Regions from separate parts of the Homo sapiens genome. Here all the other regions are linked to region 6. Evidence: promoter capture Hi-C in 16 types of primary human blood cells and fetal thymus (Javierre and others, 2016). All regions are on one chromosome and are shown on one strand. The core of a region is centred on a gene start or on the middle of the fragment in contact, and the rest is flanking DNA. Distances in the headings are between cores, read along the strand shown.

What was found. The method cuts DNA at HindIII sites, captures the fragments that hold promoters and counts their contacts. A CHiCAGO score of 5 or more calls a contact.
Region 1: a fragment that was not itself captured here is called in contact with the fragment with the promoter of HUS1 in region 6 in 3 of 17 cell types (naive CD8 T cells, fetal thymus and total CD4 T cells); the score reaches 11.0 in naive CD8 T cells.
Region 2: a contact is called between a fragment that was not itself captured here and the fragment with the promoter of HUS1 in region 6, in 5 of 17 cell types (total CD4 T cells, activated CD4 T cells, non-activated CD4 T cells and 2 more). The highest score is 17.5, in total CD4 T cells.
Region 3: a contact is called between a fragment that was not itself captured here and the fragment with the promoter of HUS1 in region 6, in 7 of 17 cell types (fetal thymus, non-activated CD4 T cells, activated CD4 T cells and 4 more). The highest score is 17.0, in fetal thymus.
Region 4: a fragment that was not itself captured here is called in contact with the fragment with the promoter of HUS1 in region 6 in 4 of 17 cell types (total CD4 T cells, total CD8 T cells, activated CD4 T cells and 1 more); the score reaches 10.5 in total CD4 T cells.
Region 5: a fragment that was not itself captured here is called in contact with the fragment with the promoter of HUS1 in region 6 in 2 of 17 cell types (total CD4 T cells and non-activated CD4 T cells); the score reaches 10.6 in total CD4 T cells.

Annotation. Positions count from the first base shown.
Region 1 is chr7:54,753,333-54,756,046 of GRCh38, reverse strand. SEC61G (SEC61 translocon subunit gamma) reads left to right here. Exons shown (of 4, transcript NM_014302.4): 3 at 166-268. Among named protein-coding and RNA genes, the nearest start is that of SEC61G, 4.5 kb to the left of the region's middle. The HindIII fragment of the contact is 3,976 bases long and covers 1-2,714 here.
Region 2 is chr7:39,946,431-39,949,200 of GRCh38, reverse strand. It overlaps CDK13-DT (CDK13 divergent transcript), which reads left to right. Exons shown (of 1, transcript NR_158201.1): 1 at 1-1,680. Among named protein-coding and RNA genes, the nearest start is that of CDK13-DT, 1.6 kb to the left of the region's middle. RefSeq lists enhancers at 1-77, 338-387, 1-496, 518-707, 2,157-2,451. The HindIII fragment of the contact is 2,093 bases long and covers 288-2,380 here.
Region 3 is chr7:42,907,583-42,910,301 of GRCh38, reverse strand. It overlaps C7orf25 (chromosome 7 open reading frame 25), which reads left to right. Exons shown (of 2, transcript NM_001099858.2): 2 at 1-1,029. The coding sequence ends at 667. Among named protein-coding and RNA genes, the nearest start is that of C7orf25, 3.1 kb to the left of the region's middle. The HindIII fragment of the contact is 1,035 bases long and covers 915-1,949 here.
Region 4 is chr7:55,962,945-55,965,926 of GRCh38, reverse strand. NIPSNAP2 (nipsnap homolog 2) reads right to left here and starts at 1,342. Exons shown (of 10, transcript NM_001483.3): 1 at 1,226-1,342. The coding sequence starts at 1,317. RefSeq lists enhancers at 300-1,033, 1,603-1,682 and silencers at 803-1,282, 1,343-1,452. The HindIII fragment of the contact is 4,881 bases long and covers 1-2,982 here.
Region 5 is chr7:55,373,184-55,376,103 of GRCh38, reverse strand. All of the region lies in intron 1 of LANCL2 (LanC like glutathione S-transferase 2), which reads right to left. Among named protein-coding and RNA genes, the nearest start is that of LANCL2, 9.3 kb to the right of the region's middle. The HindIII fragment of the contact is 3,931 bases long and covers 1-2,920 here.
Region 6 is chr7:47,978,316-47,981,090 of GRCh38, reverse strand. HUS1 (HUS1 checkpoint clamp component) reads left to right here and starts at 1,476. Exons shown (of 8, transcript NM_004507.4): 1 at 1,476-1,623; 2 at 2,275-2,402; 3 at 2,498-2,674. The coding sequence starts at 1,572. RefSeq lists an enhancer at 1,406-1,695 and silencers at 1,766-1,825, 1,906-1,955. The HindIII fragment of the contact is 1,329 bases long and covers 971-2,299 here.

The DNA of each region.
Region 1 (2,714 bases), core at 67-2,566, 6.8 Mb before region 6:
ACAACTTGTTTACTGTTAATAGTCTCACCTTTTTATTTTTAAATTATATATCTATTAACAGGAGAAATGTATACTAGTTAAGTTCATTTATGTTGCTGATAGTTTTTTTCCCATACTTTCAGTGACAGTGCAAAAAATATGTGAATTTCCTGTTTTTAAATGCAGAATTCCAGAAGATTGCCATGGCAACAGCAATAGGATTTGCTATAATGGGATTCATTGGCTTCTTTGTGAAATTGATCCATATTCCTATTAATAACATCATTGTGTAAGTAAACTTTATGAAATAGACTAGGATTGAATGAAACTCAAAACCATTTGAGATGACAGGCTGTTATTTCGTTAATATAGAGATGCATCTCTTGACTTTTTAGTGCTGTTGGAGTCTACTGATATTTACGAGTACCTGATAATTGAGGGCTTTTAGATCTTACATGATCTGTCCAGAAATTCTGTGTGCTAGGCACTATTTTCTTTAATAAATAAAATTTTACAGAGTCAAGAAAGTATTAAAGACACTCATATGTCACAAAGCCAGCATTGAAACCTAAGTCCTCTTTGTGCTGTTACCTTGTTAATTTCTAATGTGCAGAGCAAATGCTTCCCATCCAAAAATCACTGCTGTGATAGAATTCTAACTCTGGACCAGATTGCCTAGATCCAAAACCTTTTTCTTGTTATGCAGTAGCTGTCCTAGCTTCAGGCAATTTGCCTAACCTCTCTGTGCCCAGTTTATTCAGTGGGGATAATAGTTCTTACTTGGATTATGACTTTAAGTCATGTAAGGCCCCAGAAACAATTTGGGTAAGAATACAAGTGAAAGTTGTTACTATAATGAGCCATTGATACTGATAGGAGAATATCATAACTTTTAAGTATGTTAGGAGGCAAAAAAGGCTGAGAAACACTGGGATCACTTTATTTGTTTCCAAATAATTTTGCTTTTTAAATTCATTACAAGTCATTGGGACACCTTGTGGCATTGAGCAATTAGAGCAATTAGGTAATTCAGTTTAGGGTAAGGACTTAGTATGAGTTTCAGTACTTACTTTGTGATTTTGTATGCATTTAATCTCAGCCTCATCCACTGTTTGGAGGTAATAAAATCTATTATTACCTGATAATAATATCAGGTGTATCAGTGCTTGTATCCATTAAAAGCACTGAATAAGTGTTAGTTGAATTAAGTGAACAACTTCAGGTTCTTTGCCTTTTCTGATGGTGATGGTGGCAATAATAATTAACATTCATTGAGAACTTCCATATGGTATTGAAATCAATCAGTAATATCAATTGATTTTATGGGGTGGTGAAGTTTGAAGCAATGATTTAAAAAATTTCTAAACTATAAATCTCCTAAATACTAGGTATTTTATCCCAGGTACTGGTACAGGTTGCCTTTTAAATGACAAGTAACAATGTATATTGTCAGAGGGATTTCTGAAGTAGGTTACCATAGTTATTAAGGCAGAAGTGCCACAAAGTGATATTCAGGATCATAAATAGTTAGAACTAGATGGGCCCAAGTCACTGATATCTCATTTGTCAGTTCAGAAATCCCTTGTATTTTACCAGTGAGAAATGCCAACTGTAGAACTGTGGAATCACGGGGAGAATACTGAAGTAGAATGAGGAAATCAGTAAAAAGAAGTGGCAGAGTCTCTGTCAAGTCCCTTCTTTTTCATACTCGGTGCCTCTGCTCTTTCTGCTTCCCATTCTGTCATGAGACAGATTTATTGATAGGAAGTGTTTCTTTAAAATGATAACAAAATTAGTTTCCTGTGATAATCACCCTTCATTGTTCTTAGTTGTACCTTTCAGAAGAACACGTAAGCCCACCTTTTCCAATTTTTTGGTATACAAGCACCTTTCAAATTTTTTCCCCGGCCTTCACTTAACCTATATTTTTGTCCCTTTTGCCAGACATCATTGTCTGCCTTGGGTCATACTCAGGTCCGTCTTTTCATATTAGATTATGAGTTGTGAGGCAGGCCTGCCTTGTTATTTATATTGTATGTCTCTCCTATAGAGTCTGGTCCAGAGCCCCCTTGTATCCGTTAAAAGCACTGAATAAGTGTTTGTTGAATTAAGTGAACAACTTCAGGTTCTTGTCTTTTTAATGGTGATGGTGGCAATAATAATAGTTAACATTCATTGAGAACTTTCCATGACTGTGTGTCAACTCATTTAATCTTCATGAGGAAACAGGCATGGGGAGGCTAAGTAATCTACTCAGATTGCATGGCTAGTGATAGAGCAACACGGGAAATCTTTCAGAAGCTAGTTACTTAGAAAACTTTTCTTCTAGTTAAAAAAAATGGTTTCAATGTTTAAGAAGTTAAAAAATCTATCTTTAGATATTTTTTACCTTAACATGAAGGCCAATTAAAACATTTTGTGAGAGACACTACAGAAAACTTACTCTTTTCTCATGTTATGCCAGGACAGCTGTAAAACTGAAAGGAATCTTGCTTTCCCTGCTTGAAAGAGGATAATCATTGTTTAAATCATTTTGAGATGGTAGCAAGGGAAATAACTCATTGGGTTGAATTATCAGTTTTTTCTTAAGATTTTTTTCTTCTTTTTTTTCTAAGTATAGCAATCAAAATTAATATTCACAGTATTAGAATTTAAAATAGGCACTTGCTGGCCTTTTAGTTATAGCAATACTATTTAATAGCATAAGCATTTAAAATGCTAAACATTAAAGTATA
Region 2 (2,770 bases), core at 85-2,584, 8.0 Mb after region 6:
CCCTGGGAGTGGAACAGCTGCGAAAGGAGAGAAAACACCCCGCAAAACAGGGTGGAGATGGCGTTGGTTTAACTTGTCTCACGTACGCCAAAGTTCGAGGCCCCATTTTTTTTTTTTTTTTTTTTGAGACTGAGTTTCGCTCTCGTTGCCCAGGCTGGAGTGCAATGGTGCGATCTCGGCTCACCGCAACTTCCGCGAGGCCCCTTCTTATCCTAAAAAACACACTTGGGAATCACAGCTCAAGCTTCGGTAACACTATTTACTTTAAAATAAAAATTTTTAAAGCTTTAAATCAATACAGGAAATAAGTGGAATGTTAAAAGGAACTACTGAAAATTCCAAATTCTCAGGAGGCTTGAAATAAAAACATCTTGTGCGAATGAGGACTGCCCTCTTAGTACTTCACCCACTTTCACCTTCATATCTAAACCTTTGGGGTTGCCAAACATAGCCATATAGTGACCTCACATCTCATTTCTTGCCTTAGAATTGCCCTTCAGTTACAGACTAAGCACTCGGGATAATTAGATTAAAATGTAAATGGCTTATTGGCTTTTAGAATGGTTGGAAACGCAAGCTAACCCTGTGCAGTGGCACACGCCTGTAGTCCCAGCTACTCCGGAGGCTGAGGCAGGAGGATCTCTGGAGCTCAAGAGTTCGAGGCTGGAGTGAGCCATGACCGTGCCACAGCACCCCAGCCTGGCCAATCAGCAGGGCGAGGCCCTGCCTCTAATAAAAGAAAAAGCTAAGCCGTCTGTTCAATGACTAAATGTAGTAACCCCTTTGAAAATTCATTTGTTCAGATCATCAGTTGGTTTAGTTCTTAAACACTTGGTATCTATCCATCGTTAATACCTTAGTGTAAATTATTTTAATCAGTTTGACATCACAGTATCACAGACTGGCCTGATTTAAGCTAAGATCAGACTTCACTGACCGAGTACAAAGGATGTTGGTTTGCTGAAGGATAAAGGAGGAGGCAAAGGAATAGGTAATCTTAAAGTCAGAGCATTTCCCAGGAGGGCAGGCCTGGGTGGGCAACACCATGGGATGGGCATTGGGAAACTGAATAGAAAAATAGGGGGCAGGGTTCCTAAAACAAATTTCTGGTTGACAGTATTGTTGAGTGAAGGTCCTGTAGCCAGCCTCCTACCAAAGACTGTTTAGCAAGTGGCTTTTTCAGAAACATGTAGGATCAACTTGTTCCATCGTCCTACGTTAGATAGACTGGAATAACAGAACAAAGAGAGCAAATAAGAGGTTTAGCTTGCAGCTCCCCTCGTGTACAACCAGTTCCACTTGAGAATGTCATCTTCTATCATATATTTTCAAAGAAAACTTGATCCATAGTAAATGGATAATTCCCATGTGTAAGTGTATTAAATGGAGAAGAAGGGAAAAAAAGTAAATGGATAGTTCCCAATCCAGGGTGCAAACAAAAAACATGTACTAAAATATTTTTACTGTGGTTCTACCACCCACGTTTCCTCAAAGATTCTACCTTTGGTGGGGGAGGTTGAATGAACATTTTGAGCTCAAGATACCTGCCCACGTGGTTGGAAACACTAATAACTAATAGGATTCAAACTCCAAAAAATGGGAAGGACCTTTGAATTAGAAGCCGTCTGTTTCTATAAGCCTGTCTGCTTGCCTGAATATTAAAGAGATTTGAAATTCCCATTTACGACTATATTTTTGTTTATTACTGCTTGTGTGTGGGGGGGTGGGGAGTTCGTGTTTTGTTTTGTTTTTGTTTTTGTTTTTTTTGAGACAGAGTTTTGCTCTTGTCGCCTAGGCTGGAGTGCAGGGGTGCAATCTTGGCTTACTGCAACCTCCGCCCCCCAGGTTCAAGCGATTCTCCTGCCTCAGCCTCCCGTGTAGCTGGGATTACAGTTGCCCGCCACCATGCCGAGCTAATTTTTTTGTATTTTTAGTAGAAACGGGGTTTTGTCATGTTGAGCAGGCTGGTCTCAAACTCCTGACCTCAGGTGATCCGCCCGCCTCGGCCTCCCAAAGTGCTGGGATGACAGGCGTGAGCCACTGCACCAGGCCCCAGACTCATCTTTTATGCAGTTCAGAGGCCCACAGTGTTAGCACTTTTTTTTCAGAAGTGCAATATTGCTTCTATGTGCTGGGGAGTGGGAATTCTTGCTGGTTCAGTAAAGCTGAGGGATACGTATTTATAAAACAGTAATGGTGGAGTAAACTTCTAGCTGTCTTCCTAAATGGATTTTCCCTTGATTACCTAAGTAACAGTATCCTGGGTTTGATGGGGGTAAATGTGCCTAGCTAAAAACTACATCTCCCAGTATTCCTTGCAGATAAGACGTGATCATTGGCTCCTGCCAATGAAGTGAAGTGGAAGTTGTTGGGCGAAGCTTATGGAAATGATTCTTAAAAAATGGAAGGTCAGGGCCGGGCCCGGTGGCTCACGCCTATAATTCCAGCACTTTGGGAGGTCGAGGCGGGCAGATCACCTGAAGTCGGGAGTTCAAGACCAGCCATGACCAACATGGAGAAACCCCGTCTCTACTAAAAATGCAAAATTAGCCCAGTGTGGTGGCGCATGCCTGTAATCCCAGCTACTCGGGAGGCTGAGGCAGGAGAATCGCTTGAACCCGGGAGGCAGAGGTTGCAGAGGCTGCGGTGAGCCCAGAGTGCACCATTGCACTCCACCCTGGGCAACGAGAGCGAAACTCCATCTCAAAAAAAAAAAGGAAGGTCAGTTTCGCTGACCTGTACCTTCTGCCCCTCACTCTTACTTCTTACT
Region 3 (2,719 bases), core at 183-2,682, 5.1 Mb after region 6:
TCACCCTGAAGAGCTTCAACCAAGTGAGAGTGAATCAGATGATGAGGGCCCTGAACTTTTGCAGGTGACCAGAGTTGACCGAGAAAATATACTAGCAAGTGTTGCGTTTCCAACAGAAATTAAGGTCGATGTGTGCAAAAGAGTAAATCTGGACATTACTACTTTAATCACATATGTATCTGCCCTCAGCTATGGAGGCTGCCACTTTATTTTCAAAGAGAAAGTGCTCACAGAACAAGCAGAGCAAGAGAGGAAAGAGCAGGTTCTACCTCAGCTGGAGGCCTTTATGAAGGACAAGGAGTTGTTTGCTTGTGAATCTGCTGTCAAGGACTTTCAGTCTATTTTAGATACCTTAGGAGGACCTGGGGAGAGAGAGAGGGCCACTGTGTTAATTAAGCGAATTAATGTGGTACCAGACCAGCCTTCTGAGCGTGCCTTGAGACTAGTGGCCAGTTCAAAAATTAATAGCCGCTCATTAACAATTTTTGGGACGGGAGACACCCTAAAAGCCATCACAATGACTGCTAATAGTGGTTTTGTCAGAGCTGCAAACAACCAGGGTGTTAAATTTAGTGTGTTTATCCATCAGCCCAGAGCACTTACTGAGAGTAAAGAGGCTCTAGCCACCCCCTTACCAAAAGACTACACAACTGACAGTGAACACTAAAGATACCCTTTAAATATTTTTGTGGAAGTAAGTTATTTATACCAAAGGCTGGGTCTTCCCATCTAAACTGGTGGGAAAAAAGGTCTATAGTAAAAGTAAAACTGAGAACTCTTAAACCAGTAGAGTTTCTTTGTCTCTCATCTAAAGTATATAACCTCCCAAAGTAGAAAAAGCACAAGAGAGAAGCTTATCTATCAAACTGTCTGCATTAGTGCAATTAAGAACCGAAATACGTCTATATAAAGCTTTCAGCTGTATTGTAATACTTTGATTCGATAGGGCTACAACTCCCCTACTGCTAACCACATTTCATGGAATATGGCTACATTGCATCTTGCATTAAATATCTGGAGAAAATTCAAGCCTGTTTTTCATTGTATTGCTTTATATGGTTTAGGCTGGGAGGTAGTCGTTGGTAATCAATTTTAGATTCTAAGGTTAACCATTAATGAAAAACTTATTTGCTGTATGTCAGGTGCAGTCTGATAGGTGTTTTTACAAAAAGTACATAATACAGAAGAAATGAGAAAGTGAATTATGGTTATTTGAGTGCCATGAACCCATTGGTAGACCTTTGTGAAAAGAAAGCCAACAATCTTACTACTATAAGATAAAACCAGGACACTTAAGGTAAAATACTAATTTGAATGAATTGAAAAAGGATTATGTAAAAGATTTTAAAAATTCAATACAGAAAGCCCCCATATTATAAGTATTTGAACAATAAATACTATTTTCATGTTTCATTTGCAAGTGGCAAGTGACAACTGCATTACCTTACTTTCATGAGATGGTGACAGAATATTCCATGCCAATTCCATGACACAAGTTGTAGTTAAAAATACACTTCTATGGCTACATTGCGCTAGATACTTTATCAGTTTTCAATAAAGCAAAACTAGCAAAGTCGGTATGTATTCACCACATTTAAAAATTTGGAATTTGAGTCCTGGAGCTTAAATATTAACTCATGCTAAGTGTAGGAGCTGGTATTAAAACTTGATGTTTCTAGCCACAGTCTGATCTCTTTCTACCATGCCAAATGTCGTATTTGTTGAGAAGAGAATCTCAATTTACAGCCACAGTGTTTGTTGGGGTGGAATTTGGTTATTGGCATTCATGAACACCCTGAAATGAATGCAAAATTAAGTGTATGGGGGTGGTTCTCTGGGGAGAGATTGCTTTACTAAGTCAGAATACATTTTCTAGTAGAAAGGCTGTGATTTGCTTCCAGTTTAGTGTAGAGTGGTATATGTCTAGTGTTAGAAATGGAATTTAAGCTTTTTGAGCATCTATTAAGGTCATGTAGTACTTGATACTATTAAGTACCAAGCATTATAATAGTTTGGTGTGAAAAGATGAATGTTTGCTCTAAGGAATTCTTAAGTCTAAAGTGGAAGTAAACAACTGAAGTGCAATTAAATGTACTAAATTCTCTAGGATATGTTGAAAATACTATGGGGACAGAGTAAAGGAGTACTTGTTATGGGGCCAGGAAGTCAGAGAGGAAGTGTTGTTTGAGGGTTTGGGGTGTGAAATTTCACAAGATGTGTGAGAAAGGGTACTCAAAAGTACATGGAGGAATGGGATTGGAAAAGTACCAGAACTGTGACTATGAGGACCTGTTCAGGGACCAGGCTCAAGTGGACAGTTTATAAAACAAGATGGAGCTAGAAAAAAAAGTCAAAGTTCTCTAAAGAGTTTGGCATTAGAGAGCCATTGGTGATTTTTAAGAAAGTGTGGCTTATGATCAGGTCTCTTAAGGAAACCACAAAAATCTGTAGTGTGGATAAAAATTGAAAGAAAGTTTGGACTATAATGACCTTAGCTAGAGCAGGAATGATGGACTGTAGAGTCATGGATACATGTTGGATTTGTTTGAGGCAGAATTGACATATTAATGTACTCATTCGTTTAATAAGCATTGAGTGACAGCCATGTGTCAGACACAGTACAAAGGGCATGGCATATAAAAGACTTGTTTTAAAGGAGCAGAAAGAAGGTAGATTTCTATCCCTGCTCCCTATGAATCAATCAATACCTAAGAACTTG
Region 4 (2,982 bases), core at 12-2,511, 8.0 Mb before region 6:
ATTCTGCCCCCTCTCCCAAGTCAGACTCATCTTTTTAAAAAGATCAGGCCGCGCCTGGTGATTCACGACTGTAATCCCTGCACTTTGGGAGGCCGCGGCAGGTGGATCACCTGAGGTCAGGAGTTCGAGATCAGCCTGACCAACATGGTGAAACCCCGTCTCTACTAAAAATACAAAAATTAGCCGGGTGTGGTGGTGCATGCCTGTAATCCCAGCTACTTGGGAGGATGAGGCAGGAGAATTACTTGAACCCGGGAGGCGGAGGTTGCAGTGAGACAAGATCGTGCCGTTGCACTTCAGCCGGGGCAACGAGAGCAAAACTCCGTCTCAAAAATATAAATAAATAAACAACAACAATAATAATAATAATAAACCATGTTACTGAAACCTCCCTGGCCCATGGCGAGTTTAACACACAGTTCCTTAGGTAATTTAAACTACCCAAAGCAATGAATACGAGAAAGCAACTCTGGGTAAGTCAGGATAGGCTTTGCTGTTTGAATGTGGAAAACAGCACATGCAAATATCAAGGTGATGAATTTGGACAACCAAACGTCCAATCCACTGAAGTTAGAAAAAAAAAAAAGTTTAAACAAGAGCCCCACGCCTGAACTTAGTGCTGATAACTCTAAGTACTTTTAGATCCACGGCCGGCTTTAAATTTCAACTCCAAGACGTTAAGTGATTTGACCTCCTCCAAGCTCTAACTTCCCCTACGCTCCGCGGAGAGCTGGCCCGGGACAATGCTTTACTCTTTTATTCCCTACTCCCGGCACCTCAGAGACCAGGGTCACCAACGTCCTCGGCAGACGCAGCCACTCAGGCTTGGAACAGCCTCCGGCGAGGACCCAGCAGACGGCGTCCGGGGCCTGCGGCCTCAGGCGCGCGCTGTCCCTGTCCCTGGCCACGGGTCGCGCCGGTCAGGGCCCTGCAGGCCGGGCCAGCGCCGCGGGGAGGATGTGGCCTCCGGGCCAAGCCTCGGGGGCCTTCCCGGGCGAGGGTGGAGCCGCAGAGCGGCCCGTCCCCTCCGTGACCTTGAGCCCGAGGACGCCCCGACCCCGCCCCAGCTCCGGCCCCACCCCAGCTCCGGCCCCACTGCCCCGAGGCCGGGCAGCCACCCGCGCTGGGGACAGGGCCGGGGCGGAGACCGGCGCCGGGAAACCCGCGCCCTCCGCCTCGCGGCGGCCCCTCCCCGGCACCTCCCGGGAAGGGCGGCGCTGCTCACCGGAGCCTGGGCAGGAGGCTGCAGGGGGCCGCCCGCTGCAGGAGGCCGCCGGCCCAGGCCGCTCCGCGGGCGCGCAGCACTCGCGCCGCCATCTTGCTCGGCGCCTCGGCTCCCACCGCCCGGGCGCCGCCGCTGACGCCGCCGCCGCGCGACCCCTCCCCCGGCCGGGCCCCAACGCGGCCACTGCAGTGCGGGGCGCGGCCGCCAGGGGGAGCAGGGCGCGCGGCCGCGGGGGTCGGCGGGGCGTCCAGGCGCCAAGGCCCGGCCGCTGCGGGAAAGCGCGAAGCCCAAGCGCAGTCAGTGCAAGCCGATCACTTCAGCGGGAGGAGCTCGGTGCCCAGAAGCGCGGGTGCAGAAGGGACAAGGGCATAACTTCAATGATCAGGGAAAACTCCAAAAGGAAAGAGTAACACTGTGCCTAGGGGAATCCAGGGCCTGGGGCGGGGCAGTGGCAGTGGGTTTACCCCCACCCCACCCCGCCAATGTCTTTTAAATTTTGTAGTATATGAATATATTGTCATTTCAAAAAGCCCCACAACGCTTTAACAAGTGCATTCTGGGGCCGGACGCAATAGCTCACGCCTGTCATCCCAGCACTTTGGGAGGCTGAGGCCGGAGATCTCTTGAGGCCAGGAGTTCGAGACCAACCTGGGCAACATAGCGAGCCCTCACTGTGCAAAAACATTTTTAAATTAGCCGGGCATGGAGGAGCACGTCTGTGATGCCAGCTACACTGGAGACTGAGGCAGAAGGATCGCTTGAGTTCAGGAGGTGGAGGCTGTAGTGAACTATGATCGTGCCACTGCACTCCAGCCTGGGCAAACACACGACGTCCTGTAGCGAAAGAAAGAAAGAGAGAAAGAGAGAGAAAGAAAGGGAGGGAAAGGAAGGAAGGAAGGAGAAAGAAAGGAGGAAGGAAGGGAGGCAGGAGAAAGAAAGGAGGGAAGGAAGGAGAAAGAAAGGAAGGGAGGGAGGCAGGAGAAAGAAAGAAAGAGAGAAAGGAAAAGAAAAGAAAGCAAGTGAGGAAAAAATTAAAAAACACCATACACACACAAAAAAAATTAAGGAGAAAGGACTGGGAAGGTTCTCTTGAGGTCTTGGGACTGCATCGTTCCCATTCATTTCAGCACCGGTGGGCACTGGCCATGGGGAGTCCTTGGTACCTTACCCTCAAGGCCGTCTGGGTCTAGTGGGGACAGAATGTACAATGATGATTGGACCGAGTGTGTTAAGTGTCAAAATGGACAGGTTCATGAGACACGAAAGAGGCACGGAAAGAGAGCATGTAACCGGGGGTGGCTGTGAATTAGAGGATAGATGGGGAGAAAGTTCTCCAAGGAGCTGGCAGGACATATCAGTCCCAGGGGAAGAAGGGAGGGCATCCCTGTCTTGAGGAAATAACTTAAGCAAAGGCGTGGATCTGGGTGGCTGGCGCTATAGAGGGAAAAATGTGTCCTCCAGGAAGATTTTTTAAAAAGCCACAAATGAGCCAGGCACGGTGGCTCACGTCTGTAATCCCAGCACTTCGGGTGGCCGAGGCGGGCGGATCACCTGAGGTCAGGAGTCCGAGACCAGCCTGGCCAATATGGTGAAATCCCATCTCTACAAAAATACAAAAATTAGGCAGGCATGTTGTCGGGTGCCTGTAATCCCAGCTACTCGAGAGGCTGAAGTGGGAGAATTGCTTGAACCTGGGAGGTGGAGGGTGCAGTGAGCCGAGATTGTGCCTCTGCACTCCAGCCTGGGCAACAGAGTGA
Region 5 (2,920 bases), core at 395-2,894, 7.4 Mb before region 6:
AGATGTCCTGGAACCTGAAACAGGTCACAGACCACAAAATAGGGAGAGGATGCTGGATTATCCAAGCGGGGCCCATCTAATCCCATGAGCCCATAAAAGGAGAGAAACTTCTCCTATTTAAGTCAGAAATATAGGGCAGAAGGTGAAATCAGAGAGATGTGAAGTGTGAGAGTGACTTGATCTGCGGCTGCTGTAAGGACCATGTGGAAAGCATGGGCAGGGCTCAGGTGGCATTGAGGAGCTAAGGCCAGCCAGCAGGGAAGTGGGGAACACTCCAGCAGCCACAGTGAACTGGATTTGGCCAACAGCTTCAATGAGCTGGGAAACAGATTCACCCTCAGGGCCTCCAGGAGAGAAGGCAGCCTTGAAGATGCTTTGACTTTGGCCTTATGAAATTCTAAGCAGAGGAGCCAGCAGAGCCAGACTGTACCTGGACTTCTGACTTCATTTTAAAGATGATAAATAAATAGGTGCTGCTTTAAACTGCAAAATTGGTGGTATTTATGGCAACAACGGAAAAATACAACTTTCTTAGCTAATCCTTCAAGTGGCTTTGGAATGGCCAAGCAACAGAGTCTGCCTGGGCAACTCTGAGGAAGACCCTGGAGGAAGAAGCCTCTCACAGGCGTCTCAGAGAAAGACAGGAGCTCGCTGTGTGAAAAGCAGGGGGGCATTCTGTGCTGAAGGACAGAGATGGTATTTAAAATGCATTTAGGAGAATGCCATGGGCATTCCTGAGGAAACAAGTCATTCCATCTGAAAACTACGGAATATGCAATCATTCTCTTTCTAAAATACTTGTGTTCTTCTGTATTTTTTATGATAAATTTAGTGCTAGTTTGAGGAAATACAACTGCTATACATAAAAATACAGAAAACTTTAAAGATTTGACAATTAACTTGTAAAAAATTATGATGATCTTAACTACAAATAGAGGAGAGTGAAAAGTCTAAAAACAAGTGTTCAACATGCACATAATAAATAGCTCCTAAGAAGAAAAAGGTACGTTTTGAATAGTTATGCATAAATTGAACATTTAGGTATGAATAATACTTGAAATGCATCAGGAGAGCTTAATAAAATCATCTACTACACTCCTAATAAATGGGGTATTTGAGACACTTAATCTAACTTAATCCTCTTGATAATCCTAAAGCAGCATTATCATCATGGTACACATGCAGAAACTGAAGCTAAGAGAAAATAACTTGCCTACATTTTAAAGATGATAAAAATAGCTTTTTGACTCACATTTTACATATGTGATGATGTGCAAACTTTGCAAACTGTATACCATAAAGTAATTCTTTTCTTAGGAAAGATTTTAACAAACCCTTCTGCTGAGGGGTATGGGTTGGGGAAGTGCATTTCCTAATTCAGCTCTCCTAGGCTAATTCACTTGTAATGTTAGACACATGAAGATGTGATGTGATGTTACATACCTAGCAAGAGTGTGGGCTTGCTTTGTTCCATTTTGCAAACAAAATGAATAAAACAAAAGTCCCCCAATCCTTACCTCAAAGCTAATTACTACATGGGAAAAGCAGGCAGGGGTGGGGAAGCTATATCTTCTGACAGTAAAGAATTAGATGGTAGTGAAAACATCTACCTTCACTAGTGGTATTTTCAATAAACAGGTCCTTACCTAAACTGACTCTATCAAGATAACGCTATTTTGCAGAGGTGTTTGAAAATAGTTCATTCTGCTAAAAATAGTCATAGATTTACATAATCTGGTCTGCTTCTGTTTTCTTATTTCAAACTCAGTAATATAACAGAAAATATTCTAGATTACATATCCTAAGCACACACACCTCAATCCAATTTTGATGTGTATCATAAAAATTCATCTGCTATGTATGCTTCGTAGGGGATATATGGCATAACCACAAGGAAGTTTACAATTGCAATAAAGAACCAAGGACAAACTGTTAAGTGACAATGTATTAATAAACTGCAAACAAGGGCTCAAAACATATGTAATTACAGTTCAAGAGACAAGGAACCCATGGAGATAGCAGGATTTTGTGGTCAAATTATCTTTAATTATGGAAAGCTCTCAGTGAAAAGTTAGGTTTCATTTTGATTAAACAATTGCTGCATGGTACTAACTAAAATCTATAAAAGACAGGAACATTTTCTGAAAAAGAAACTCGGTTTGTTATATGCAATTCTATTCAAGCAAAATTTGCTCAAAACCTAGTCTGGCCCTAGCCAACTGCTAGTTGTCCTTACAAAGCACACTCCTCACCCAGAACTCCCAAAGCATATTACATAGTTCTTGACTTACAGTAGCCTGGAATGTCATCTAAGAGTCCAAGATGTAACATTCTAGATACAGAATAGCTTTTAAAATACAAAATTGTATCATTAAATAAAATGCAAAAAATGCCTCTCATAAAAAAATTTTTTTAATTTCCATAGATTTATTCAGTCAACAAACATTTACTACCTACTGCGTTCTTATTTCAGTATCAAGCAGTGAGGATGTTTAAAAATAACTCCCTGGGTGCAATGGCTTGCACCTGTAATCCCAACACTTTGGGAAGCTGAGGCAGGACAGGAGAATTGCTTGGGCCCAGGAATTCAGGACTAGCCTGGGCAACATGGCAGGACCCCATCTCCACACACAAAAAATTTAAAAATTAGCTGGGTGTGGTGGAGTACACCTGCAGTCCCAGCTACTTGGGAGGCTGAGGTGGGAGGATCTCTTGAGCCTGGGAGGTCAAGGCTGCAGTGAGCTATGATTGTGCCAGTGTGGTCCAGTCTGGGAAACAGAATGAGACCCTGTCTCAAATAAATAAATAAATAAATAAATAAATAAATATTTAAAAAATTAAAAAATAATAACTCAAGTATGTTCAAGAAAAAATTCCTGTTCTCAGAAAGCAGTAAAGTTAAGTGGGAAAAAGAAATAGA
Region 6 (2,775 bases), core at 227-2,726:
CAACTCATCATTTACATTAGGTATTTCTCCTAACGCTATCCCTCCCCCAGGCCTCCACCCCCCAACAGGCCCCAGTGTGTGATATTCCCCTCCCTGTGTCCATGTGTTCTCATTGTTCAACTCCCACTTATGAGTGAGAACATGCGGTGTTTGGTTTTCTGTCCTTGTGATATTTTGCTGAGAATGATGGTTTCCAGCTTCATCCATGTCCCTGCAAAGGACATGAACTCATCCTTTTTTATGGCTGCATAGTATTCCATGGTGTATATGTGCCACATTTTCCTTATCCAGTCTATTATTGATGGACATTTGGGATGGTTCCAAGTCTTTGCTATTGTGAATAGTGCCACAATAAACATATGTGTGCATGTGTCTTTGAAAATTATCTGGGCCTGGCGCGGTGGCTCACGCCTATAATCCCAGCACTTTGGGAGGCCGAGGTGGGCAGATCACCTGAGGTCAGGAGTTCGAGACCAGCCTGGCCAACATGGCGAAACCCCGTCTCTACTAATAATACAAAAATTAGCCGGGCATGGTAGCTTGTGCCTGTAATCCCAACTACTTGGGAAGCTGAGGCAGGAGAATCCCTCGAACCCGGGAGGTGGAGGTTGCAGTGGGCCAAGATCACGCCATTGCACTCCAGCCAGGGCGACAGAGCCAGACTCCGTCTCAAAATCATCATCATCATCATCTGCATTATCATTATCTTGATTCTATGTGTCAAGTTAAAGACAAGGTTCTAGTCTATTTGCAAAGGACATTAAAAATAACAATTGTTAACACAGATAATCTTTAGTCTTTGAAAAACCAAATTAGATACAATTGTTGCTTCATTTCCCCCTTTAAAATTTTTCCTTTAAAAAAAATCCTAATGACATTATTTATGCTAATAAGAATTTTATCGGATGTAATAAAGTTCGTCTTGAGGCAAACTGCAGAATTATCACTTAACGTCAGTGTTCTTTAAGCTTCCCGACTTTACCAACTAGCCAGTAATATGTTCAATTTTTTTAGAAGTCATTTGAAACAATTTTCAGAACCTTAATCCACCAAGATGCTTCAATACCAAAGTACCAGTACCGTCATCTGAGGCTGGAGGGTTTAAAGCTGCTCTACCTTAGGTATATTTAAGATAATATTGTTTAACCTTTATAAACGATTAATTTTATTTGGATATTTTAAAATAACACTTGAAATAGGTGTCACAAAATTCTTTCAAAACGTGAATTCTCAGAACAACCTCCCCGAATCTGGGGCTTGAAGCCTCCGCCTCACTAAAAGTAGATCCCACCATTACCCGGCAGCGCGGAGGCATACCCGGAGACTGGGACCCCCACCTCCCCCGGGGCGTGACCTGTGATCCTTGACCCGTGACCCCACCTCCTCTAGGGCGTGACCCCCTAGCCCCACCTCCTCCGGGGCGTGGCCCGGAGATAACCCTGGTAAGAGTCGCGTAGCCCGAGCCGGGCGGAACCACTGTTCGCGCTGCCGTGTTTCCGGGCGGGGACACTCAGGGCGCGACGCTTTTCTGTTACCCACAGAGGCCCGCCGCGGCTGCGCCATCCGCGGCCATGAAGTTTCGGGCCAAGATCGTGGACGGGGCCTGTCTGAACCACTTCACACGTGAGCAGGGAGGCCGGAGAGGAGCGAGGGAGGAACGGAAGGAAGCAGTGAGCGCGCGGTGGGGACCGCGCAGGAGGATCAGAACGGGGATGGGCGCCGGAAGGGGCCGCGGGAGGATGGGGCCGGGATGGGGGTGCTGGTGTAGGCCGCGGGAGGGTGGGGCCGGGAGGGCGCGGGGCGGGTCGGAGGGCACTTGTGGGGATGAAGGCGGCTTTCAAGGGACGTTTCTGAAACTTGATTCCGATCACGTGGCTTTAAAAAAAAGCGGCCACTGCTCCCATAGACGGCTTTATCAGGCATTGACATACCTTCAAGGCCCCATTCGTCCCTCCACCCTGACAGTGCCTAACCTTGCATTTAACTGTGTATTGCAGTACCTAGTAGTCAATAAATCCATGTTGAATGAATGAATGACTGGTAGGTGCCTGTTTTCTTATTTGAACACTGATGATGTGTGCTGTACATCTCCCCTAGTTTGTTGGGAGAATTGCGTGACATCAGGGGTATTAAAGTACTTTCCAGTGTGATACCAACGTTAAGTGGTTATTTTTCCACCGAGAAGTTGATGAACAAGAAATTCTGCAAAATAAGTTGGTCTCTAGGATACATAATGTGCATTTTAGTAATTCCTTATTTTAACCCCTGCTTTAGGAATCAGTAACATGATAGCCAAGCTTGCCAAAACCTGCACCCTCCGCATCAGCCCTGATAAGCTTAACTTCATCCTTTGTGACAAGCTGGCTAATGGAGGAGTGAGCATGTGGTGTGAGCTGGAACAGGTGAGCAAAAGCTTCTGAGAGGCCTGCACACTCTGCAGATTGTCACTGGAAAGATCACATATACCCTCCCTCATCCCTCATTTTTTTTCCCTTAGGAGAACTTCTTCAACGAATTTCAAATGGAGGGTGTCTCTGCAGAAAACAATGAGATTTATTTAGAGCTAACATCGGAAAACTTATCTCGAGCCTTGAAGACTGCCCAGAATGCCAGGGCTTTGAAAATCAAACTGACTAATAAACACTTTCCCTGCCTCACGGTCTCCGTGGAGCTGGTGAGTAGGAGAGTCAGGGTTTCTAACACAGAAGTCTTGGCCTCGAAGGAATAGACATAGTTAGCCTAGCCTTTTTAACAATAAATACTGTTGAAAGCTGT